6 separate regions of the Homo sapiens genome follow, and all the other regions are linked to region 2. The links are contacts of gene promoters, found by promoter capture Hi-C in blood cells and fetal thymus (Javierre and others, 2016). All regions are on one chromosome and are shown on one strand. The core of a region is centred on a gene start or on the middle of the fragment in contact, and the rest is flanking DNA. Distances in the headings are between cores, read along the strand shown.

Region 1 (4,324 bases), core at 1,283-3,782, 290 kb after region 2:
ATCTCCTGACCTCATGATCCGCCCACCTCAGCCTCCCAAAGTGCTGGGATTACAGGCCTGAGCCACGGCGCCTGGCTGAGTGTCCTGTCTTATGCTGCCTCATGCTCAGGTTGAAATGTGAGTGTTGCCTGACTTGGTGTCCCCGTGAGGCCCCAGCAGGCTGACCTGCAGTGAGTCAGTCGTTCCTGCTCTGATAGTTACACAGGAGCTGAGCGTGGCGGAGAAGCCATGCGTTTGGATATTGGTTTCATCACTGGAGTGTCATGTTTAGTTGTGGCTGCCACACTTTGGGAGAAGATGGGGAAATTGGAGAGGTACCAGAGAGGAGCAAAAAATAGATGAAAGGATGCATTAGTGGTCCCATGGGAGGAGGTTAATGGAATCCAGGCATTTGTATTTCTTTTTCCCTGAGAAGAAGCTCTGAGTGGTGAGGCAACAGTGCTCCTCAAATAACCGAGGTTTCTGGCTGGTTCCACCTCATCTCCATGGAAGATTGACCTGGAGAAGGTCAACTTCAAGTGCAGCGATAGAGAGCACCTGGGCATGATGCGCTTATTAACAGCGTCCTTATATCCCTGAGCAGACACTCAGGGTGGCTGTAGATACTCGGTTCCGAGGGCTCCGTGAAAACTGAAGAGTTACTCTTTTCTTAATTTTTTGAGGTAGCATCTCACTCTGTTGCCCAGGCTGGAGTGCAGTAGCACAATCATGGCTCAGGGCAGCCTCAACCTCCTGGGCTCAAGCGATCCACCCACCTCTGCCTCCCCAGTAGCTGGGACCACAGGCACGCACCATCATGCCCAGCTAATTTTTATCTTTTTGGTGGAGATGGGGTCTCTCTATGTTGCCCAGGCTGGTCTCGAACTCCTGGGCTCAAGTCATCCTCCTATCTCTGCCTCCCAAAGTGCTGGGATTACAAGCGTCAGCCAACTTTCCCAGCCAGGAGTTACTCTTTTTAAAAGGTAGGCACAGGCCTTTGTGAGGGATGCCCTGACCCTTTTGCAGTGGTTTGACTCTTTGAGGCCGTGGTCCGTGGAGTTTGAAACCTGCACAGAAAGAATATTTCCCGAGTCTGGCACCACCTGGCTTTAGTCAGAGGGATCACCTGAGCTGCTCCAGTCCTCTCTCAGCGGCTCCTGGGGAATTGGGAGGGGGGCTGAGGCATGCTGGTGAGATTCAGGGTGCACTGGCATCAGCTCACAGGAGTTTTTTCTGTCTCTTGAAGAGTGACTTTCAGTCCCATCCTGGGTAAGAACAGCTGTTTTGCATGTTGCTGAGTAATTTCTTTGCAGGTCCTTGTGTCCTAGCATCGTCCTTTCTCACCTGCCTTTATTCTGTTTCACGCTGCACAGTATGGAGTGTGCAGTGATTCATTGGGGAGAGAAGAAAATAAAACCAAAAAGCCCATCTGCTTTGTCAGGAGACACCTCCAAACACAGATGCTCCCTCATCCTCCTACAGCAGCTGTTTTCAGCCACACCTCTGGGCTCAAGCCATCCTCCTGCCTCTGCCCCCAAGTGATCATCCTGTTGTCCCACCCATTGTCCCGTAAGCAGGAGTTCAACAGGGACAGAGCGCGGGGTGGGAGGTGGCTGGAATCATCCCATGGCTTAGTGGTGTGGGGACTAAGGAACTATTGTTCCCTCTCCAGCTGGAGCTGCACATCCATTTTCTGCTGTCAGATGCCATCCATGTAGGAGATGCTCCTTCCAGACAGCCCCCCAGAGCCGCCTGGCTGACCTTCCACTCCCGGGCTGAGTGTCACTACGAGTCTTGACTTTCTCGTCATGCTGGTGTTTCACAACCTTGTAGCTAGAGTCCGGTGCAGCTTTTCTTCCTGCCGGCCCATCAGCTTTCGCTTCTCTCTGCCGCTGGGAGGCAACATCTCGGGGTTCTCCAAGGGGAGGTCTCACCTTGAATGAGTCTGGCATTTTGAGGTCATGATGGTGGCCGGGATTCTGCCCATGTTCAGTGGGACTTGGGTGGCAGCACAAGCAGATGAGGCTTGGTTTTGTTCCATTCTTTGTTTAGTTGCTCACTCATTCCTTCATTTGGCAGATGCCATATACTGTGCTGGAAGAGAGGATGCAGCCGTGACCCAGACAGACAAAGTCTCTGTTTTGATGGGGCGTATGTTGGAGAGTGGAGGGGCAGGGACAGTGGATGATCAACAAGATAATTTTGGAAGCTGATAGGAGCTGTGGGGAACATGAGAGAGGTTGATGTGGGGTGTGGTGGAGGAGGAGAGTTTGGGGGCTCGGGAGGCCTTCCTGTGGGTGGCATAGTGAGAGCCTGGGTATACCTGCCCCGTGGCTGCCCAGGTCTGACCCGGAATCCGGTTGTGTTGGATGGTACCACTGAGAATCGTCATTTCCTGGGACTTCCCATCCGCTTTTCTTGAGAAAGTCACTGCCCTTTTAAGTTGCTTGTTTGTTTTAGTAAACGTAGTCAATGAAGCAGTGAGTCAGTGCAAAACTGTTCAGATGTCACCGATGGGAATAGGTTAGATACAAAGTTGTGTTCATTCACCAATGGCTTGTTGAGTACCCCCTAAGCCCACGGCGCAGTGCAGGAGCTCTTAGATTCAAAGAACTCTGGTCTGGGGGAGGGTGGAGGTGTGAGGATTCCTTTAGAAGAGAGAAGGGACCCACGCCATCTTGCTGGGGGGGAAGAGGCCCTCTGCCTTTCAGATCTATCGGTTCATGGCTTTGCAAATATCAGTATTTGCTAAAAATGAGGCCTACAGATTTTAATGTGGCAAAACGGATTTTATTTCTGAATGTTAACCAAGTTGAGGTTAGGAGTAATGATCTGCAGTGCGAAAAGGGGGTTTTTATCTTATAATGATTAATTCTTTTCTTCCTTCCCTTCTAAAAAAAATGTGATTCCTGATAAAACCTGATGTTTCACTTTATATTTAAATGATACTCCATTGAGCATTTTATTAGTAACAATTCAGTACTTAAATTGCATATTTCAGTTATAAGAGACAATTCACTAGGCTTGCAAGAAAACTATCCTATTTAAAGTAGGAGAAATCTCCCTCTTGATTACTGTGGAGGTTTCTTCATCTAGACATTTTAAACACTTTCCAAACAGTCCTTGCAGTTTTTCTTTTGTATTGTGGCAAAATACACATAACATACAATTTACCATCTTAGGCATTTTTAAGTATCCAGTTCAGTGGCATTAAGTACATTTCACATTGTTATATGATCCTTACCACCATCTGTCTGCAGAGCTCTTTTCATCTTATAAAATACCCTTGGAGGTTTTCCAGTTTCTCTTGCTAGCAGGTATGTTTTAGTTAAGGCAATATACCAGGTTTAGTTAAGGTGCTATACCAGGTATTTTACACATAATCTGATTGAATTCTCACCATAATCCTCTAAGGGGCATATTATATATGTGGTTTTTGTTTTGTTTTGTTGAGACGGTATTTTGCTTTGTCACCTGGGCTAGAGTGCGGTGGCACGATCATAGCTCACCGCAGCCTTGACCTCTGGGGCTCAAGCGATCCTCCCACCTCAGCTTCCTGAGGAGCTGAGACTACAGGTGTGTGCCACCACACCAGGCTATTTTTTGTATTTTTTGTAGTGACGCAGTCTCACTCTGTTGCCCAGGCTGGCCTCAAACTCCTGGGATCAAGCGTTTCTCCCACCTCAGCCTCCCAAAGTGCTGGGATTGTAGGCCTGAGCCACTGTGCCTGGCCTTATATGCAGTTTTCGCCAATGAGGAAACAGACTGAGAGGGGTTGAATAACTTGTTTGAAGTTATACAGCCAGCAGATGTCGGAATGGGCATTTGGACCCAGCTTCCTCCAAAGCTGAGGCTTTTTCTGTTGTTCCACAGTGATTTTCAGTTAGAAGTTTTGATTCTGGCATCTTGCCTTCTGTCAGTAACTGTTTTCAGCACAGAACAGAATACTGTTCACATTTTCTCTGAATATTGGACATGCTTCCTGTGTACTTCAGTGTTCTTGCTCAGGAAATCTGAGGAGCCACCGAGCACCAAAAGAACAGGCATCTGTAAAAGCAACTCAGAATTAAGACCATACTTTTTATTTTTATTTTTTTGATACAGTCTCTCTCTCTCATCCAGGCTGGAGTACAGTGCCTTCATCTCAGCTCACTGCAACCTCCACCTCCCGGGCTCAAGCCATTCTCCTGCCACAGCCTCCCAAGTAGTTGGGATTATAGATGTGCACCACCATGCCCGGCTAATTGTTGTATTTTTAGTAGAGACGGGGTTTCACCATGTTGGCCAGGCTGATCTTGAACTCCTTGCCTCATGTGATCCACCCGCCTCAGCCTCCCAAAGTGCC
Region 2 (4,018 bases), core at 36-2,535:
CTGCCTCCACTTCAGCCAGAGTCAGAACTAGGCACAAGGTGCTGGATGAAGTTTCCTATTCAGGGAGCAGATTTTTTTTTTCCTTTTACAGTGAAATTGGAACAGTCCTGGGAAAATGGGACAGGTGTCCCCAGTCAAGAGACAGAGCTGTTTACCCAACTACGAGGAGAGGCCCTGAGGGAGGCGAAGTGTTGATACCAAGAAATCTAAAATTTTCCGATCAAGAGGTCGCCCCTGCAGGTTGGGGACCAGGGAACTGGAGCACGTGGGCTGCCCTCTGACAGGTGGACACCAGGAGTGGGGCGGGCAGGCCAAAGTACAGCTGGGAGATGGGAGTCCGGAGGGAATTCTCTGGGTTAGTTTTGGCAGTCCATAGGAAAGCAGGTGCCTGCCCCGCAACCCGGACACCCTACTAAGCCAGCCGCGGGTGGGCTCCTCCTTCGAGGGGACTGCGGGGCAGACGATCACTTCTTTCCACTGAGTCTCTGGGAGGAGACAGGGAGATGCCAGAAGGGGCCAAGCGTGAGCCAGGGCAACCAGGCCGGCCAGGCCCGCCGGCCGCTCCAGCCCAGCACCAGGGCGCCCGCGCGGCTGCCAAACACCCCCGGGAGTTTTGCTCGCAAAGGGACCACGAGGCAGCTGCTGGCGCGTCCTGCGCGTACCCGCCCAGAGGCTCCCCGGCTTGCTCCTCGCGGGTCTGTCCCGAAACTGACGTGAAACCGATTTGGTGCAATGCGAATGAGCTCCCGCCCGCCTCCGCCTCCATCCCAGCCGCCGCCGCCGCCCGTCGCCATAACAACCGGCCCCCACCCCCCCCACCCCACGCCTTGCCCCTCGGGTCCCCCGGGCCACAGGCCACAGCGCGGGAAGGCGCCCCGCCCTCGGCGCCCCGCATCCGGCCGCCGCGCACCCCCGCCCGCCCGGCGCTTCCGAGCCACGCAGAGGCGCCCCCTCCCGCCGGAGACGGGAAAGCCCCGGCGCCCCCAGACTGGGCTCCGTTTCCAGCTCCCGGAGGGGCTGGGGCTCTCCCGCGTGCGCCCCGCACCTGCCGGGGGCCCGTACCCGCCCTCGCCGGGGCTCCAGGGGGCACGACGGCCGTGGCCCGGCGCTCTTGGGAGGGGAGCGGGACATCCCCGAAGGCGGCGCGCTGGAGGCGGGGAGCGGCCGGGGCGCACGGAGAGGGCGGGGAGCCCGCGGGAGGGGGAGGAGGGGGAGGAGGGGGAGGAGGCGCGAGGTGGGGGGGAGCGCGGCGGGCGGCAGGGAGGGAGCGGGAGGGAGGCAAGAAAGTAGCAGAAAGTGAGGCTGGCAGGCGGCGGCAAAGGAGCCGGCGCGCGGCGGCGGCAGGAAGTCTGTGCCCGAGAACAGCAGAAATAAGAGCCAGGGAGGGACCGCGGCCGCGGCGGCGGCGGCGAGAGCGAAAGAGGAAACTGCAGAGGAGGAAGCTGCGCCGCAGCCCGAGCCGCCCGGCATCCCCGCCGCCTCTGCGCCCGCGCCGCGCCCCCGGCGCCCCCTCCCCAGCGCGCCCCCGGCCGCTCCTCCGCGCCGCGCTCGTCGGCCATGGCCCGGGAGAACGGCGAGAGCAGCTCCTCCTGGAAAAAGCAAGCTGAAGACATCAAGAAGATCTTCGAGTTCAAAGAGACCCTCGGAACGTAAGTGGGGACCGGGGAGGCGAGGGTGGAGGTGGCCGCGGCAGGGGCTGCACGGGCAGCTCCAGCTGCCGCCGCCGCCACTACCGCGGCAGAAACCCAGCCTGTCACCGCGTCCTCATTGTCCCGTTCTCGGCGCTGCGGAGCCCCCCCGAGCGCGCCCGACGCGTGGGCCTGCGACCCCCGGGTGGGCGCCGTTCCCGGGAGGGGGAGGGGGCAGCGCCGGGCTGTCAGGGAGCAGCCCACGCGGGCGCGCGACTTCCCACTTCTCCTGCCACCGCCGCCCTCTCCGCTGCCTTCTCCCCACGCGTGACTGTGGGCTGAGCATGGTGGGGATGGCTGTTTACCGGCTGTGTGCGTTTACTCGCCGTGTGCATGGGCGCACCGCGTTGGCGAGACGTGGTCACGAGAAGATCAGCCTCCAGTCGTTCCCATTTCTGTCCTTACATCATGTATTTCTATGGAATTGGCATCTGCACGTACGAGGTGTAGGCAAGACTTTGGGTGGCCACGCGAGGATGGAAGGGAAGGGCTTCGCAGTGCTCAGGGTCACACGTGGGCAGAGCCTCACCGGAGGGTCTGTGCATTTCACGCGGGCTCGGCCGCACGCGCCGGGGAGCGCGTCTCCAAGGGAGGGTCTGTGCGCGTCGCTGCGCGGGCGGTGCTCTCTCCGGGCTGCATCGAGTCCCATGCTGATGGCTGTGTCTCAAGAAAGCAGAAATAATCCGAAGTCGATGGCAGGAACGCTCCAAGCATGTGCTGCTCAGCTCAGCTGCTGTTCCCTTTCTGCCCAGGAGTTGGGTCTTGTTTGTTTTGTTTCGGAGCGGCTCAGAATAGGTGGGGAGGCTGATAGTGAAAGAGAATCAGGACCTGCCGAATGAGTCTGAAGTTCAAGTTATTTCCTTCCCTCACACAATCAGTATTTGCTCTGCATCAGTATCTGTCAGTGTGGATTCACGCACAGGTGTGCAGTCAGAAATGCCCATTTTGCAGGGGTTCATGGAGGTGTTGATTAGGCTGGGAAGAGAAAGGGGAGCTATTTCATGGGATAAATCAGTGCGTTGTTGGGTGCCCTTTCTTTCCTTCCTCCTTTTTTTCCGTGTGCTTGTTTTTGTGCTTGGTTTCTTTTTTCCAGCACCACATTACCCAGCTTGTCTTCACCTCCAGGCTCGGCGTCTGCTGCTGTTCAGTCATTTCCCCTCACCCCCACGCAGATCTGCAGGGGGTCCCCCGGAGAGAAGTTGTGAGGGTGGCTTTCCCAGTCCTGCTTCTGATTCCCGGGAAGGCGCACGCTGAGGACTAGAGTGGGGTCTCCCTGCTGTGGTTGTTGCCTTTCAGGGAGGGCACCTATTTGCTATCTTTGTTGGAATGAAAACAGAAAAAGATGTAGCTTTTTAATAAATAGGGGTTTGGGGTTGCCTCTTAGTGCAGCCAGGTAAGGGGTTAGTTTGGGTCAAAACTTTTGAAAATTGCCACTGAGGTTTATTCGGGTTTGGGGTTGTGATTCTGAGATGCTCAAGTTACTGAGAGACAAGAAAGCATGGCCTTTGCTTGTCATCCAGGACCCGCACTGTGGCCGCCAATGAGGAGATGGGAGAGCATGGGGACCCACCCTGTGTGAATGCTTTCCTGTCCGTGGCTTGTTCCCACCCGAGCCCCCCACACTGGCTTCCTGCCTGTAGCCTCCGGGTGACTGATGCCCTGTCCCCTGACTGACTCGTGCAGCTGCACCTCTGCAGTGGCGGGGCTGCTGAGGCTCCAAGCTGTGGCTCCTGCTGGAGCATGGTGTTTGGAGATGACTGTGGGTGGTTTCCACCTTGGGGAAAAATGGGGATTTGCCCTCTGGTGCCAGAGCGCTTCTCTGGCAGAACAGCCTCTTGGACTCCAGCCATGTTCCCTGTGAGCTTTGGGAATGGGTCTCTCTTAGGGTCCTAAAGCATTGCCTTCTGCCTGGGATGGAATTCTTTGCAAAGGAGCTTCCCACTGTAGCACTGGCATTGGACCTAGAAGAATGATAGAAACAGTGTGATGATCAAGATGTTTTTACTCCACATAATAATCATGGTAATCATAGGTGGTATTCTGAAATGTATACCCAGGATCAGGTATTATTCTACGTGCCTTATGTGTATTAACTCATTTAAATCTCAGAGTAACCTTATGAGGTAGGTATTTACCATTACACCCAATTTGCAGATGAGAAAACTAAGGCAGCAGAGATAATTATGTGAGCTACCAAACCTTAGCTAACTATTAAGTGGCGGAGCTGGTATTCACAGATAGGCAGAGCAACTTTTGATTGTCCATACAGGGTTGACACACTTTGTAGATCCTGTAATGGCCAATGCTTAGTCAATAATTTGACTTAACTT
Region 3 (3,924 bases), core at 51-2,550, 300 kb before region 2:
GCGTGAACCGGGAAGGCAGAGCTTGCAGTGAGCCGAGTTTGCGCCACTGCACTCCAGCCTGGGCGACAGAGGGAGACTCCGTCTCAAAAAAAAAAAAGAGAAAGATGAATACTGCTATTCTGCAGCATTGATAAACAATTATGAGAACTGCCCCAAATACCATATTGGTGATAGCCACCCACGCTTCTCTTCAAGGTTTCCTTTTCCCATTTCATGGGATTACCTTAAGAAGCTTTACTTCTGGCTGGTGCGGTGCCTCATGCCCGTAATCTCAGTACTTTGGGAGGCCGAGGCTGGTGGATCACCTGAGGTCAGGAGTTCCAGACCAGCCTGGCCCCAATATGGTGAAACCCAGTCTCCACTAAAAATACAAAATTAGCCAAATGTGGTGGCGAGCGCCTGTAATCCCAGCTACTCGGGAGGCTGAGGCAGAAGAATCACTTAGAACCCGGGAAGCAGAGGTTGCAGTGAGCCGAGATAGCGCCACTGCACTCTGGACTGGGCAACAGAGTGAGACTCTGCCTCAAAAAAAAAAAAAAAAAGAAAGAAAAGAAAGAAAGAAAAAAGCTTTACCTCTTTGTTAATAAATATAATAAATCCTTCTCATCCTAAATCAAGTCAACCTTTGTCTTTAATCAGGTGTTAAAAGGAAATCACCTAAAATCAAAAAACAGGAGGGCCTTTTTGTTGAGAATTTGCTATTTCACATTTGTGATTTTAGTTCATCGCAATCACCATTTTATAAAAATAGAGTCAGATGAATTTACTATCACAAAACTAATAAGTATACTATCTAGTATTCTCAAATCTAACTCCAAAAACCCAAGTTCTTTCTGCTATGTCTCTATGCAAACTTTTACATAAACTGAGAATGCTGCCAATCATTTTACTTCCAAAGACAGATGTCAAGCTAGCCACCAAAAGCCTGATGTGGGAATATCATTGTAATCTCTTAACTAGAAAAAACACCCCGCTCTGAAGAGGCCATCATTTTTTTATTCGGATAATAATTCAAACTTCATGATTTTCTGAAAATACATTCTCAAGATGAATTTTTGAGAAAAGTCTCAAAAATGTTCATTGTTATTTTTGCCTGCTCCAATTGACAGAACTGTTCTATATGGGGAAAAAAGAGAATGAAACTATTTAGTTTTTATTTAGACCTACACGATACTACTCCCTACTTAAAACCTACCTAGTGGCAGCTTCACAGACGAAAGCAAAGGCCAGGCAAAGAGATTACAATTACGGAGCAGGACAAATCCTGAGTTTAAGGAAAAGAAAAATGCATCAGATGAAGCCAACCAGCTATAACTACAGCCTCTGCCCACTGACCTCAGAGAACTGGGAGTGTTCTGTTCCATGAGGAAATCCAGCTTTGATCTTTTAGAAGCCGATGTTTAACTAACCTAGTTTAAGCTGCTTTTTAAAAAATACCCACCTCTTGGTATATCTCTGGTAGAAATTTTTTCAGCGTTCCCTCTATCTGCTTAACAGTTTCCAAAAGTAAATGTGTTGAGGTGTGTCCCTTCAATATGAAATATAAGCATCGGCCGGGCGTGATGGCTCACGCCTGTAATCCCAACACTGGGAGGCCAAGGCGGGCGGATCACCTGAGGGCGGGAGTTCGAGACCAGCCTGGCCAACATGGTGAAACCCTGTCCCTACTAAAAATATAAAATTAGCCAGGCTTGGTGGTGTGCGCCTGTAATCCCAGCTACTCGGGAGGCTGAGGCAGGAGAATCGTTGAACCCAGAAGGCGGAGGTTGCAGGCAGCCGAGATCACTCCATTGTACTCCAGCCTGGGCAACAAGAGCGAAACTCTGTCTCAAAAAATAAAAAAAGAAAAGAAATGTAAGTATTGAGGGTGCATTTAAACAAATATAAACATACGAAACGTATTAGTACTTATTACCAAATCATGTTGGAATTTCTTGTGGAACTGTAAGATGAAAATCAGTTCACTAACACTGGCTTCTCTGAATTCCACCAAAACAGAACACAAGCAATGTGAGATTAACCTGTTTTATTTTTCAAGCTTTTAATGTGGCTAGTCAAAAAAGTAAATTAATATTGGCTTGGCCGGGCGCTATGGCTGACACCTGTAATCCCAGCATTTTGGGAGGCCAAGGCGGGTGGATCACCTGAGGTCAGGAGCTCGAGACTAGCCTGGCCAACATGGTGAAACCCTGCCTCTACTAAAATACAAAAATTGGCCGGTCATGGTGGCGGGCGCCTGTAATCTCCACTACTCGGGAGACTGAGGTAGGAGAATTGCTTGAACCCAGCAGGCGGAGGTTGTAGTGAGCCAAAATTGCGCCACTGCACTCCAGCCTGGGCAACAAAGCGAGACTCCCTCTCAAAAAATAAATAAATAAATAAATAAATAAAATGATAAGACTTATAAAGTACTTAGAACAGCACTTGGCAAGCAGTGAAAGTCCAATGAATGAGATTACAATCTAATGCAGGAGGTAGATCGTAAATAAACAGATAAAAACTGTGATGGTTAGAATAAATGCTCAAAGGGAAAAAGGGTAACATCATGCAGAGTAACAGGAGAGAGGGAAGAGGGAGGCTGCTTTATAGTCAGGAAAAGGCTCTTGAATGATTTAAAATTTGAGGTAAAACCTGGAGAATTGGAAGTTCCTGGTTATGCAGCTAGAAATGTCAAATGGGCACTTGGAACACAGGGGAGAGCTCCAGCCTAGAGATGAAATTTTGAAAGTCATCCGAACAGACAGTATTTAAAGCCATAAGAATGGATGGGTTCAGGCCAGGCACAGTGGCTCACGCCTGTAACCCCAGCACTTTGGGAGGCCGAGTAAGGCAGATCACTTGAGGTCAGGAGTTTGAGACCAGCTTGGCCAACATGACAAAACCCCATCTCTACTAAAAATACAAAAATTAACCAGGCATAGTGGCGAACGCCTGTAGTCCCCGCTACTCCAGAGGCTGAGGCAGGAGAATGGCGTGAACCCGGGAGGCAGAGGTTGCAGTGAGCCGAGATGGTGCCACTGCACTCCAGCCTGGGCAACAAGAGCAAGACTCCGTCTCAAAAAAAAAAAAAAAAAGAATCGATGGGATCACCCAAGAAACTGCAGCAAAAGAAAAAGGTCCAGGACTCAGCCCTGAGAAACTTCCATATACAGAGGTTAAATATCTAAAAAGGAGACTGAATAAAGAAAGGGAAAACCAGGAGAGTGTGGCGTCATGAAAGCCAAGAAAAGAGGTGCTTCAAGAAAGGAAAAGTGGGAAGCTGTCTTCTGTGTTACTAGGACAGCGAAGAACATGAGGACAGAGAAGTGCTTGTTGCATTAACAATGCGGGAACGAATGCTTACCTTGCAGATGCAGGTCAGTGACGTGGTGGGGACAGATTGGAATGGTTGAACACTAAGTTGGAGATGGAAACAGTGGAGTAATATTTGAGAAATTATGTTGAGAAGAGCAGCAGAAAAATGTAGCCATAGGAAAATGTGAGAAAAGGGAGGAATCTGTTTGGTTTTGCACCTTTTACTTTTGTATATTTTTGGTATTTTTACATGACAGATAAAAGAGGATATGTGGGGGTTTTTTTGTTTGATTGTTGATTTGTTTGAGACAGAATCTCGCTCTGTCGCCCAGGCTGGAGTGCAGTGGCACGATCTTGCCTCACTGCAACCTCCACCTCCCAGGTTCAAGTGATTCTCCTGCCTCAGCCTCCCGAGTAGCTGGGACTACAGGGATGTGCCACCACACCCAGTTAATTTTTTTTTTTTTTTTTGAGATAGAGTCTCACTCTGTCATCGGGCTGGAGTCCAGTGGCACGATCTTAGCTCACTGCAACCTCTGCCTCCCGGGTTCAAGCAATTCTCCTGCCTCAGCCTCCCCAGTAGCTGGGGCTACAGATGCACACCGCCACGCCTGGCTAATTTTTTGTATT
Region 4 (3,822 bases), core at 875-3,374, 270 kb after region 2:
GATGCTACAGCGAGACAGACTGTTCTAAACCCTTTACATGAACTAGCGCATTAAATCCTCGAATCAACCTCTTAAGTAGCTACTGTTTTTACCCACCCTTTACGGAAAAATCCAAAGGACAGAGAGGTCAAGTATCTTTTTGTTTGTTTGTTTTTTGTTGTTGTTGTTGTTGTTGTTTTTGAGACGGAGTCTCGCTCTGTCTCCCAGGCTGGGGTGCAGTGGTGTGATCTCGGCTCACTGCAAGCTCCGCCTCCCGGGTTCACGCCATTCTCCTGCCTCAGCCTCCCGAGTAGCTGGGACTACAGGCGCCCGCCACTAAGCCCGGCTAATTTTTTCTATTTGTAGTAGACACGGGGTTTCACCTTGTTAGCCAGGATGGTCTCGATCTCCTGACCTCGTGATCCGCCCGCCTCGGCCTCCCAAAGTGCTGAGATGACAGGCCTGAGCCACCGCGCCTGGCCGAGGTCAAGTATCTTCTCACCAGCTAGAGTAGAGGAGGCAGGGCGGGAACCGAGGTGGTCTCTGTCTTGAGTCCATACATTATAACTGTTGAATTACCGGACACCCACTTCAGTGGCATTTATTCGGTGAAGTGTTTGGGGTGTAGGGAAGGGGTGGTGGTGACTGGAAGTGTAGCTTGGGGATCGCCTTTTTAATATCCCTGTCTAGTCACAAAAATAAGGCATGTTCTAATCAACTAAGCACTTGACCATGAACTTCTCGTAAGCAAGGTGAGTGGTAGATTTTTTTTCCTCAAGGATGCAAGCAGCTGATAGAATTGGGAAGAAAGTTATTAGTTGCAAAAACATTTAAGCTTTGCAGTAAGATTACTAGTGCACCAAAGGAATCGTGACTGTTAAGCCCTCTAGCTGATTAACTGGTGCTGTTATTTTATTTTAAAATGTTGTAATTTTTTCACAACAAGAAAAGTAATGTGTATTCCTAGAAGACAAATGAGGAAAAATACATAAGCAAAAAGAGGAAGAACACTCATAACTCCACTAGCCAGAAATTCCCCGTGTTAACTCTGGCGTCACTTACGGTAAATATCCCCATTCATCTCTTCTTGCTCCCAGAATAAATTAGCAGCAGCTTTTCCTCAGAGCAGGGGAACAAGCCACTTGTGTGGTAGGCAGATATGCAGGCTATGATGGCCAGAAAATAAGCGCACCCCAGGGCGAGGCAGTTTGTATTTTCTGCTTTCGGGGGAGCCGTTTCTTCTCTTTGAGGAGAGAAGTAATTTTCTGTCCCACCTGCATCTGTTTTCTGGCCTTGGGACCAAATGTCAACATCCCTAGTGGTGAGCACGCCCTTCCTTCGGTTTTTCTAGTTGCTGAGATACCTGCCGGGTTAGTTTTTTCTCCTCCAGATTGCATGTCTCTGATTCACCAGTGATAAAAATATTGAACAGTCACAAAAGACATAAATGAGGTGGGGAGAAAAAGCATGTCACTGAAATGCTGGTTTCCACTGGTGAGCTCCTTGAAATCCTGATAGAACTTTTTCCAAATGAAACGTGAAGTGGTATGCTCTTCAGACCATTAATTTTATTAAATAGCCAAACAATTGGATTACAGCCGTTTATCTGTACTGATTTTGCATTGTCATTTCAGAATTATCTCTTTAATTGCTACCTCCTCAGTAAGGTTCAGGGTAGAATGCTGTCACTATTTACGTAATCATTTACATATTTTGTATTAATTCACATTTGTTTTGGATCTAGTATTGAGAGGTGACTTAATTAGATCCAGTGGTTCATGATTAGCAGCCGATTCAGGGCTCTGTGTCTCTCTCTCCTCTTCAACATTTCCTCATTTCCTATTCCTGCCTCCATAGATATCCACTATAATGGACTTGCTAAATCTCTTTGAATACACAGGCATCCTCCTAATTTTTTTTTTCATTTTGTGGTGTGCATGTGTGTGTGAATGTTTGTATTTTTAATTTACATGAATGGCATTCTTCAATAGATTTCATTCTGTTGCTTCGCACTTTCAATGCATGCTCTTTCTAACATCTGTCCGTGCTACTTACTCTGTTTTCTCTAGTTCATTGTTTATAGCTGCTTTTACCCCATTTTATCTTCATCTCCCTGGTGATGGATGACTGAACCGTCTTGCACTTGTGTGTCCATAAAGAGTATCATGGATGAAAACCCTTGTTCATGCCCCTTCAAAGACTCGTGGGGGGATTTTTTGGGAGCCTCATATTCAGAAGAAAGCATACAGTTACTTTTCATTTAAGTATCAGGTAATACTTAATTTCATTAAGCATTGCCAGAGTATTTTATTTTTTACTAAGTATTAATTGAGTACTTTCTATTTTCATCACATTAGGCTTGGTATTTAGAGGGATTCATGGGAAAAAAAAAGAGACTCTTCTCAAGAAGTTTAAACTTTGCGTAGGAAGAAGGCAACAAAAAGAGAATATATGGGTAGTAGTAATAATAGTTGCAGTTTATTTGTCATATACCAATCAGTGACATATATCTTCTTAATACGCATAACCCTGTGAAGGTATATTATTAATTCTGTTTTACTGTTAAAGAAAAGGCAGTTCAGAGTGGCTAAGTAAATTGCCTAAGCATGCACAGCAAAGATGGTGGCAGTGCTGAGGTTTAAACCCAGTTTTCTCTTACTCCAAAGTCTCTCTCTCTCAGTGCTATGCAGTACTACTACCTGAGATGTCTGTTTTTAAAGAAGCCATTGAATCTTTGCATGTAGCAGGAGCTCAATAAATGCTTTTGAATTACTGATTGAAATAATCATGGTAAATGCATTTGAGTGCTGTCTGCTAAGTAGTTTAAGTACTTTATGTCTAGTAAACTGTTCCAATTTCACAGTAATCCCATAAAGCTGGCATTACTGTTATCCCTGTTTTTCTCCTGAGGAAACTAAGGCATAGACAGGGTGAATAATGACCAAATTCACATAGAGCTGGATTTTTTTTTTTTGAGACGGGGTCTTGCTCTGTTGCCCAGGCTGGAGTGCAGTGGTACAATCATGGCTTACTACAGCCTCAGCCTGATGGTCTCAAGTAATTCTTCTGCCTCAGCCCGAGTAGCTGGGACTGCAAATGTACACCACCGTGCCTGGCTAATTTTAGAATTTTTGGTAGAGGAAGGGTTTTACTGTGTTGCCTAGACTGGTCTTGAATTGCTGGCCTCAAGTGATCCTCCTGCTTCAGCCTCCCAAAGTGTTGGGATTATAGGTGTATGCTACCATCCCCTACTTGGATTTTTAAAATTATTAAAAATTACATTTTAATTTTAACATTTTAATTTCAAGATAGTTGTAGATTCACATACAATTATAAGAAATAATATACAGTGAGATCTCATGTACCCTTTACCAAGTTTCCCCAAATGGTAACATCTTACAAAACTGTAGTACAGTATTACAACCAGGATATTGACATTGATACAAGCAGGATACAAAAGCTTCTGGAATTCCTCATGGTGCTCTTTTGTAGCAAACCCACTTCCCTCCTGCATGATCTCACCCCCTGCCTAACCTCAGGTAACCTGTAGTCTCTTCCCCATTTCTATGGTTTTGTCATTTCAAGAATGTTATATAAATTGAATCTTACAATATGTAACCTTTTGGGATCTTCTTTTTCACTCAACTTTCACTGGAGATTTATCGAAGTTGTTGTATGTATCAGTAGTTGTTCTATTTGATAACTGAGAAGTATTTCACAGTTTGAGTGTACCACTTTGTTTAACCATTCACCAGTTGAAGGACACCTAGTTTGTGTCCAGTTTTTGACTATTAAAAAATAAAGCTCTGCAGTCCGCAGTCCGGCCTGGGCGACAGAGCGAGA
Region 5 (4,020 bases), core at 233-2,732, 350 kb after region 2:
TTTTGGCGCCCATAGAGTGGAAAGTTTACTCAGCTTTAATTTTTCAGTCAGAATTGTGTAAGCTGAACCAATTGAGATGTCTGTGGTGTTGGTTGTTGCTTCTGCTGTTAATCATTAGTCCTCTACAGTTAGGGCTGTAACTTGAAAAAAAAAAACAAGATGATTTTTTTTTTCCTTGCTGATTGATGAGGACGGTTTGCCGCCGTGGACTTCATCTTCCACATCAACTTGTTAAAACAAGTTATTCATTTGGAAACTGCTGATTTCTTTGGGGCATTGTCCACATAAACTTTTCATAAGGCATCAATGATTTCACCATTCCTCCACACAAGTGTCACCATAAATTTGCAGTTTGTTCTTGCTTCAATTTTAGCAGAATTCATGTTGCTCTGATAGGGGCTCTTTTCAAAATGACGTCTTTTCCTTCTTACTGTCTCAAACTAGATCCTGTCTAAACATGTTGTAGCAAGCTAGTACACATTTATTTTGGTGCAAAAAAAAAATGGAAATTCATGCATAGTTTTTTCGTAATACTCATTTTCCACGAACTTTTTGAAGTCCCTTAGTATATTTTTGATTCATTTAGCATCGAGTTCACAGCCAACAGCACAATATAACCCACAGCTGAACAAAGCTTACATAACACACATATTTTCTCTGTAAGGCGTCATAGATTAGTCCATTCTCATGCTGCTAATAAAGACATACCAGAAACTAGGTAATTTATAAAGGAAAGAGGTTTAGTTGACTCCCAGTTGCGCAGGCCTGGGGAGGCCTCAGGAAACTTAGAATCATGGCAAAGGGGGAAGCAAACATGTTCTTCTTCACGTGGTGGGAGGAAGGAGAAGTGCTGTGCAAGAGGGAGAAGCTCCTTATAAAAACCATCAGATCTTGTGACAACTCAGTATCATGAGAACAGCAGCATGGGGGTAACCGCCCCCATGATTCAACTACCGCCCACTGGGCCCTCCCACCACATGTGGGAATTAAAGGGAACTACAGTTCAAGATGAGATTTGGGTGGGGACACAGCCAACCAATATTACTCAGCCTTTCTGAGCTTAGGAGCACTAAGTAGCTCTGTAGCACTGTGCCTGCGGCCTGTTTCAAACAAAATCTCAAGCAAAAAGCAAACATATATGAAAGACATGGCACGAAATAGCCCAGAGAAAGGACCCTTGTTGACAGTAGGAGAGCTGAAGCAGGAAGGCACAGTGTCATCTTGTTTGACCTCAGCCTGGAATGTGCATGTCCAGTAACTCGAATTTTCTCCCCTCTGCTCCCATGTCCAGGAATGACCACAAAATTGCCACAAGTATTGATTTCTAAGTTTCAAAGAAATTTTAGCCAGCAGGTGAATTTGTAAATACAGATCGGTGAATAATGAGGACTGACCATACTTACATTCTAATGTTCTTAACTAAATATCTTTCTCCACGTATGTATAAAGCATAAAATTTTCTCCTTTCCAGTCTAAAGGTCAGTGCCTAAAGGAGTGAAATGGTGAGAAGGGGCTGGATCCAAGCTGTTATTGGCTATGATTGAAAATTTACTGCTATTTAAAAGTGCATATTTCCACTTTTAAGTTGCCCATAGATTCTTCTTTTTTTTTTTTTTTCTTTTTTTGAGATGGAATTTACTCTTGTCACCCAGGCTGGAGTGCAATGGTGTGATCTCAGCTCACTGCAACCTCCGCCTCCGGGGTTCAAGCGATTCTTCTGCCTCAGTCTCCCGAGTAGCTGGGATCTCATACATTATTCTTTAGTGTCCAAAGGGTTTTTACTTCCAATGGCTTATTTGTGGAATTTATAAACGGAAGTGATTTGCAAACAACCAACAAAAAGCACACCAAAATAACCTGCACAAAGATTACAAAGACTTTAATAAATTAATTACGGTTACTTGTCATCATTTCCCTGTTTTAAGTACACCCCTGAACAGGCCTCAGGCTTCTTCCAGTATGGGCTGGCCTGGGGATGGGGAGGACGAAGGTCTACCCCAGCCCTCTCTGGCCACAGAGGCTGCATTGCCCCCTCTCTTTCAGTTCGATTTTGTTTAAGGCAGTGTGGCTTCTTAAGTGACATGTCTGTGATGATCACCCCAGGCTTTCTACATCAAAATGTTTAAGTATCTATCTTCCAGTGACCTTCATGTCATTTCCCAGTATTCTTTTTAGGAGACTGCCATAAATTCAGGCAGTTTGAGCATTCTCCAAACATACTCATTTGCTTCTAGAAAGGAAATCTATGGTTCTTTTCTCCGAGAGTGGTTACATTCCAGATCTTAGGGGCTGAACGTGACAGAAGTGGATTTCTCATCCATGTACTATTGGAAGCTTGGCTGGGGGCCAGGGGTTCTTCCCCAGCCATGCGTTTGGAGCCCCAGGCAGGCAAGATCCTGCCATATTCCACACATAGATATAGGTATCTCTAGTCAGCAGAAGGGAAAAGGAAATGAGTAGATCAGGTATGTGGGGCAGAGGGCGCAGTTATGAAGACCCTGGAAGCAATGTACATCACTTCTCCCCACATTCCTTGGCCAGAGCTCATTTGTGTGGCTCCCCGTTGGACGCACAGGGCAGGGAGTGGGGGTGCTGGAAATGTATGCCTAGGCTGGGAACCCACTTTCTAGAAGCAGCATTCTGTTCCATCATAGGGGAGCAGGAATCGTGCAGGGACAGCTGGCCATCCCTGGCACACAACGGAAGACGGTGGAGGACGCTGCTCTTGGTGGCGAGGAAGTGAAATTTGTCTAAGCTCTGAGGTCAACCTCGAGGAGGTGAGGTTGTTGGAAACATTCCTGTCAAATCATTCTCATATTCTAGCTAAGCCCCTGTTAAATATGCCACACCTCAGAGGCTTAGAACCCTTTTAAGTTTCAGGCAAACACAGTACAGGGTGTGGGATCTGTTTCTGACACTCTTGAGAGCTACTTGAAGACGGGCTCCATCTGTGCCTCTTGAAACAAAGACACTCGATAAAGGCACACTGAACAAACAATGATGCAAAAATGCAAGTTCCTAGGAATAACAGTAGCTAACTTTTCCTATGAAAGCAGTGTGGGCCGCACCTGTGCCTAGGACTTTACATGTGTATCTCATTTCATCTCTTAAATCCCCGATACGAGGTAGGTTCAGTTATGATGATCCCAGTTTTACAAGAGAAGGAACCATGTGCACAGAGGCACATATGTTGCTTATAGCCTCGTGGCCATGAGCAGCAGAGCTGGTATTTAAGTCCAGGCCATCTGTGAGCTGGGGAGAGAGAGGTAAAGAAGATGCGTAGCACTGGGGATGAGAGGGGCACATTGTCCCATTTTGGTACTTCCTGAAGATTCCACAGTGTGCTTCCTAGGGGCAGCCCGAAGGTCATCAGGAGTGCGCATGATCTGAGATTATTGCCAGAGAGCATTGTTCCTCTCAGATTATAATGCCAGTAACTGGGACCAGTGGGGATTTTATAATCATACAGTCCCCATTACAGAGAAACTGAGGCTTAGTATGTAAAAGGGATGCCCAGTGTTACATTACAGTAGGTCAGAGTTGTTTCCAAAGAAGTTCATCTGATTGTTTTTGTTGTTTTTCCATCCAAGCCATAGCTGGTTACTATTAGGAAGATAGCTAACTAGTTGTCAAATACACCCGGGATTTTTCTGAAGTTTAACCACTTTAAAAATAAATGTGTCATTTGTCACATATTTGTATAATGAGCAGCTTTGGTCAATACCATAACCTCAGTCTCTCCAGAATTTAACACAACTGTGGTGCCATTCCTATTGGACCTACACACTCAACCACAGAATGGAGTCGGGTGAAAGATTGGGTGACTGGATTTGCCATTTCACCGAGTGCTGTGAATGGGTCTCACTCGCAGGGCTCGGAACAGAAGCCACCAGACCCACAGGCCATGGGAGTCCAGTCCCACAGCTGTCTTGGCTCCTGGTGAACTAGGTCAACTGCTAATACCTTAGTAATAGACACTGCCATTGCACAGACCAGGCAATGAGGCATAGTTAACGGCTC
Region 6 (3,948 bases), core at 867-3,366, 370 kb after region 2:
GGGTATCAGTGAGAGAAGAGGCTGGGCATCAGAGCATCATGGAGACAATGTGCCTCTTGGTCTTAGGCCTTCATTTACAGATGATTTTAGACAGTCCCATTAAAGACACAGTTCCCTTGAACTTCACAGACATGCTGAGTGATGACAAACCTTGGCAGGTCTGTGACCAGTTTCTTCCAACAAGTTACTTCTAGGCATTCCTACTAATCTTTCAACCCACTCATTGCTTAAGGGTAATAAGATCTAGAGATGACGTGGTAGATAAGACTGTTGACACATTCTCTAATCTTAGCTAAGCAAACAGAGACTCATTGTCCCAAGCCAGTGGCTGGCACAGTGCCCTGAATGTCTTAACAGAGTTTGACAGGGAAATAGGAGCCCTTCAACCCTTTTTTGAGATTGAAACTACAAGAGTGAGAAGATTATTTTTCCCTCTCGAATGGCCCCGAAGAATCAATAAGGATTCAAGGGTTTTCCTCTCCACGGTAAGGAGATTGTTCTTGGCAAGTTATGCTGAGAAGCCTGTTGTGTGCCTTGTCCTCCCTCAGTCATTTCAGCCTTAGAATTGAATTAACTGCAGGCCCAAGGACATAAATGAACCACGTGAGTCATTTTTCAAAAGTGAACGACAGGGCACCTGTCTTCTGGAATTGGTGAATCCATTCAGCGGAGACTCTTGACAAGGCTTTGTGTGAGATGATATAAATAGGCCCTGACCTGCAGGGCTTTTGTTGTCTTTGGGTGAGATAGAGACATTTGTACACAAATAATCACAAACTGGCTAAACTGTGCCACGTGATTAGCAAACATGCGCATGCCCAATCAGCGAGATCTTCACGGTCAAGGGGCTAATGTCTAGAGAAGCTTGGACGTACAGAATAGCGTGGCCGTTAGTCTTATATCCTGTCGTGGTTCCCCACACATTTCAATTACTCGATAAGTAATTCGAGACCAGTCACAGGCTTTTTTCTCACTTAATGGACAGCCTTGATGAGGGCTAGCAATTTCTTCACTTCTTGTTCCAAATATAACCAACTTATAAAAACACCTTCTGGAACTCCATACAGGGAAGAATAGGATTTAATCACAGGAAATGTATCGGCGGGCTGTGCATTACTCAATTTAGCACTGTTGGGAGCAGATCAAAATCTGGGATCCATGGTATTAGATGGCTCCAAGCTTCAAAATTTTGTGTTCTTTCACTGGCTACCATCCACCATCCATCCATCCATCCATCCATCCATCCATCTATCCATCCATCCAAAAAATATTTACTGAGCAGCTACTAGGTGCCAGGGCCTTTGTAGGCATCAGGAATATAGTAGTGAACAAAATAGACAAGGACCCTGTGCTCACAGAGCTTATTACCTAGCAGAGGGTAACCCGTAGTAACAGGTACACACATGCATGAACTAGGTGCCTCCAGATAGTAGTCATTAGGCCACATGGCTCGATGGGAAATGACTAGGGGGAGATTAGGGTTGTGTGGACCAGTGCCTCCTTTGATAGACAAGCACTGGTTACGGACATGGCCCTAGACTCCAGGTGTCAGAATTACCACTGTAGACCTAATGTCTATAACAGAGGTTTTAGACAGTAGGAGTTTTTAACAGTAGGAGTTACTGAAACCCCTCGCTGCCTTCTAAGTGCAGCAGGCTCTATAACAAGAGGGGGCTCTGTTTCCCTAAGTGAGGTAGCTTTCTGAGGTCCCTTTTATAAGGGCGTTAATCCCATTCACAATGGCTCCACCCTCATGACCTAATCACCTCCACAGGCCCCCCATTCCTAACACCATCACCTTGGGTGTTAGGATTTCAGTATATGCATTTTGGGAGACAGTCCATGGTAGACTTTAAGATAACTCCAGGCTGGGCGCGGTGGCTCACGCCTGTAATCCCAGCACTTTGGGAGGCTGAGGCGGGCGGATCACGAAGTCTGGAGATCGAGACCATCCCGGGGATAACACAGTGAAACCCCATCTCTACTAAAAATACAAAACAATTAGCCGGGCTTGGTGGTGGGTGCCTGTAGTCCCAGCTACTAGGGAGGCTGAGGCAGGAGAATGGTGTGAACCCAGGAGGCAGAGCTTGCAATGAGCCAAGATTGTGCCACTGCACCTCCAGCCTGGGCAACAAAGTGAGACTCCGCCTCAAAAAAAAAAAAAAAAAAAAAAAAAAAAAGATAACTCCAAAGAATTTGAAAAGTAGTGTAAGTTACAAAGTTATCCCCTAGAAGTTATAGAAATTTGCCCTTCAGCATCCTCATCTGTAAGTGGAGAAAATGATACTTCATAGAGAAGTTATGAGGAATTCTTAGCCAAACACTGGGCACACAATAGCCATTTGGCAAATGTTGGTTTCTTCCCCTCCGGCCTACCAAAGGATCTGGACGAGGTCAGTTCAAAGGTCCTTACCATTTAAACTTGAAGCTATAAGATTAAAATCCCTGTCCTAACAGAGTTTCTAGCATTAAGGCGGAAACAGAAATGTAAGGCATGGCCCTGATCACTAAAAAGGATGTGATCTATTGGGAACTACTTGGAACAAGAGTGAGAAGTAGAAGAGAGTAAAGAGTCAGGAAATGTGATTTAATAAGTATGTGACAGAATATTGAAAGTGTTCATTAGTATATCTCTAACGGAGGTATAATCGGTGCTCTCGGGGCAGGTGGAAAATGGTGTGGGCTGGAATTTGAGTGTAGATGGGAAAAGGCAGAAAGGAAGGTGTTCCGGAGTCCACATGGGAGGAAGAACTATGTGAACACCACATGGGGAAAAGAAGAAATGGACGTGAAGAGGCTAAAGTCCCAGGGTGTCAGGCAGTGGGCTTGTGTATTGCAGGCCCACACGTCTTAAAGCAATCTCATTGAGTCACACTTAATTAATTGAGAATTTATCATTATTTGGAAGGAGGCAGGCTGCAGTTTGGGAGAATTGAGATTTATTAGGTGTTTGAACGGTCTGAACGGGAGAATTGTAGAATTTTTGCTTTAAAAGGAAAAGATGTCTGACCTCTTCCATGTAACAGATGAGGCATCTGCAGCTCACAAGGTTAGAAAGCTTCCCTGACCTCACACAGATGGTAAATGACAGAACCCAAACTAATTAAATCCTGCATTTCCCTGAATCGTTTTTGGGGCATCTCATCTCAGAAAAGGAGGGGAAGGTTATCTACTTAAGGAAGGTTATCTACTGAAAATACCGCAGTAGTATTGATTACATTAAGGCATACAGGAATTGCAATATGGTACAGATGAACATGCATCTTTTGCTAATGTGTAAGCTCATCACTAATCAGCCTACTTATGAATGAAAGCAAGACCTCCAAGAGGCAGAATAGTTACTATGTAAATTGAAAGGCATTTTTTTCTATTAAAATACATCATAAATAATTATGTTTATATCCTTGCAGTAGTTTAAAACTCTATTAGCAGGTTTTGTTGTTGTTGTTGTTTTGACATTCTTTTTTTATATTTTTTATTATACTTTAAGTTCTAGGGTACATGTGCACAATGTGCAGGTTTGTTACATATGTATACATGTGCCATGTTGGTGTGCTGCACCCATTAACTCGTCATTTACATTAGGTTTATCTCCTAATGCTATCCCTCCCCACTCCCCCTACCCCACAACAGGCCCCGGTGTGTGATGTTCCCCTTCCTGTGTCCAGATGTTCTCATTGTTCAATTCCCACCTATGAGTGAGAACATGCGGTGGTGTTTTGACATTCTGTCGCACAGGCTGGAGTGCAGTGGCGTGATCCCAGCTCACTGCAACCTCTACCTCCCAGGTTCAAGCAATTCTCGTGCCTCGGCCTCCCGAGGAGTTGGGATTACAGACGCCGGCCACCATGCCGGGCCAAATTTTTATATTTGTAATAGAGATGAGGTTTCACCATGTTGGCCAGGTTGATCTCAAACTTTGACCTCAAGTGATCCACCCACCACAGC

What was found. The method cuts DNA at HindIII sites, captures the fragments that hold promoters and counts their contacts. A CHiCAGO score of 5 or more calls a contact.
Region 1: a fragment that was not itself captured here is called in contact with the fragment with the promoter of CAMK1D in region 2 in 14 of 17 cell types (naive CD8 T cells, M2 macrophages, naive B cells and 11 more); the score reaches 13.0 in naive CD8 T cells.
Region 3: a fragment that was not itself captured here is called in contact with the fragment with the promoter of CAMK1D in region 2 in 1 of 17 cell types (neutrophils); the score reaches 5.3 in neutrophils.
Region 4: a fragment that was not itself captured here is called in contact with the fragment with the promoter of CAMK1D in region 2 in 12 of 17 cell types (M2 macrophages, total CD4 T cells, total B cells and 9 more); the score reaches 9.5 in M2 macrophages.
Region 5: a fragment that was not itself captured here is called in contact with the fragment with the promoter of CAMK1D in region 2 in 11 of 17 cell types (fetal thymus, total B cells, activated CD4 T cells and 8 more); the score reaches 8.6 in fetal thymus.
Region 6: a contact is called between a fragment that was not itself captured here and the fragment with the promoter of CAMK1D in region 2, in 1 of 17 cell types (fetal thymus). The highest score is 8.0, in fetal thymus.

Annotation. Positions count from the first base shown.
Region 1 is chr10:12,632,916-12,637,239 of GRCh38, forward strand. All of the region lies in intron 2 of CAMK1D (calcium/calmodulin dependent protein kinase ID), which reads left to right. Among named protein-coding and RNA genes, the nearest start is that of MIR4481, 18 kb to the right of the region's middle. The HindIII fragment of the contact is 7,467 bases long and covers 1-4,324 here.
Region 2 is chr10:12,348,262-12,352,279 of GRCh38, forward strand. CAMK1D (calcium/calmodulin dependent protein kinase ID) reads left to right here and starts at 1,286. Exons shown (of 11, transcript NM_153498.4): 1 at 1,286-1,649. The coding sequence starts at 1,558. RefSeq lists silencers at 445-704, 745-1,304, 1,475-1,564 and enhancers at 1,601-2,100, 2,275-2,434. The HindIII fragment of the contact is 10,581 bases long and covers 1-4,018 here.
Region 3 is chr10:12,044,460-12,048,383 of GRCh38, forward strand. It overlaps LOC105376416 (a long non-coding RNA gene), which reads right to left and starts at 1,618. Exons shown (of 3, transcript XR_930666.2): 1 at 1,442-1,618; 2 at 1,196-1,264. The HindIII fragment of the contact is 1,471 bases long and covers 566-2,036 here.
Region 4 is chr10:12,616,356-12,620,177 of GRCh38, forward strand. All of the region lies in intron 2 of CAMK1D (calcium/calmodulin dependent protein kinase ID), which reads left to right. Among named protein-coding and RNA genes, the nearest start is that of MIR4481, 35 kb to the right of the region's middle. The HindIII fragment of the contact is 2,625 bases long and covers 813-3,437 here.
Region 5 is chr10:12,699,506-12,703,525 of GRCh38, forward strand. The region is part of intron 3 of CAMK1D (calcium/calmodulin dependent protein kinase ID); the gene reads left to right. Among named protein-coding and RNA genes, the nearest start is that of MIR548Q, 24 kb to the right of the region's middle. The HindIII fragment of the contact is 1,700 bases long and covers 633-2,332 here.
Region 6 is chr10:12,720,296-12,724,243 of GRCh38, forward strand. All of the region lies in intron 3 of CAMK1D (calcium/calmodulin dependent protein kinase ID), which reads left to right. Among named protein-coding and RNA genes, the nearest start is that of MIR548Q, 3.1 kb to the right of the region's middle. The HindIII fragment of the contact is 1,879 bases long and covers 1,178-3,056 here.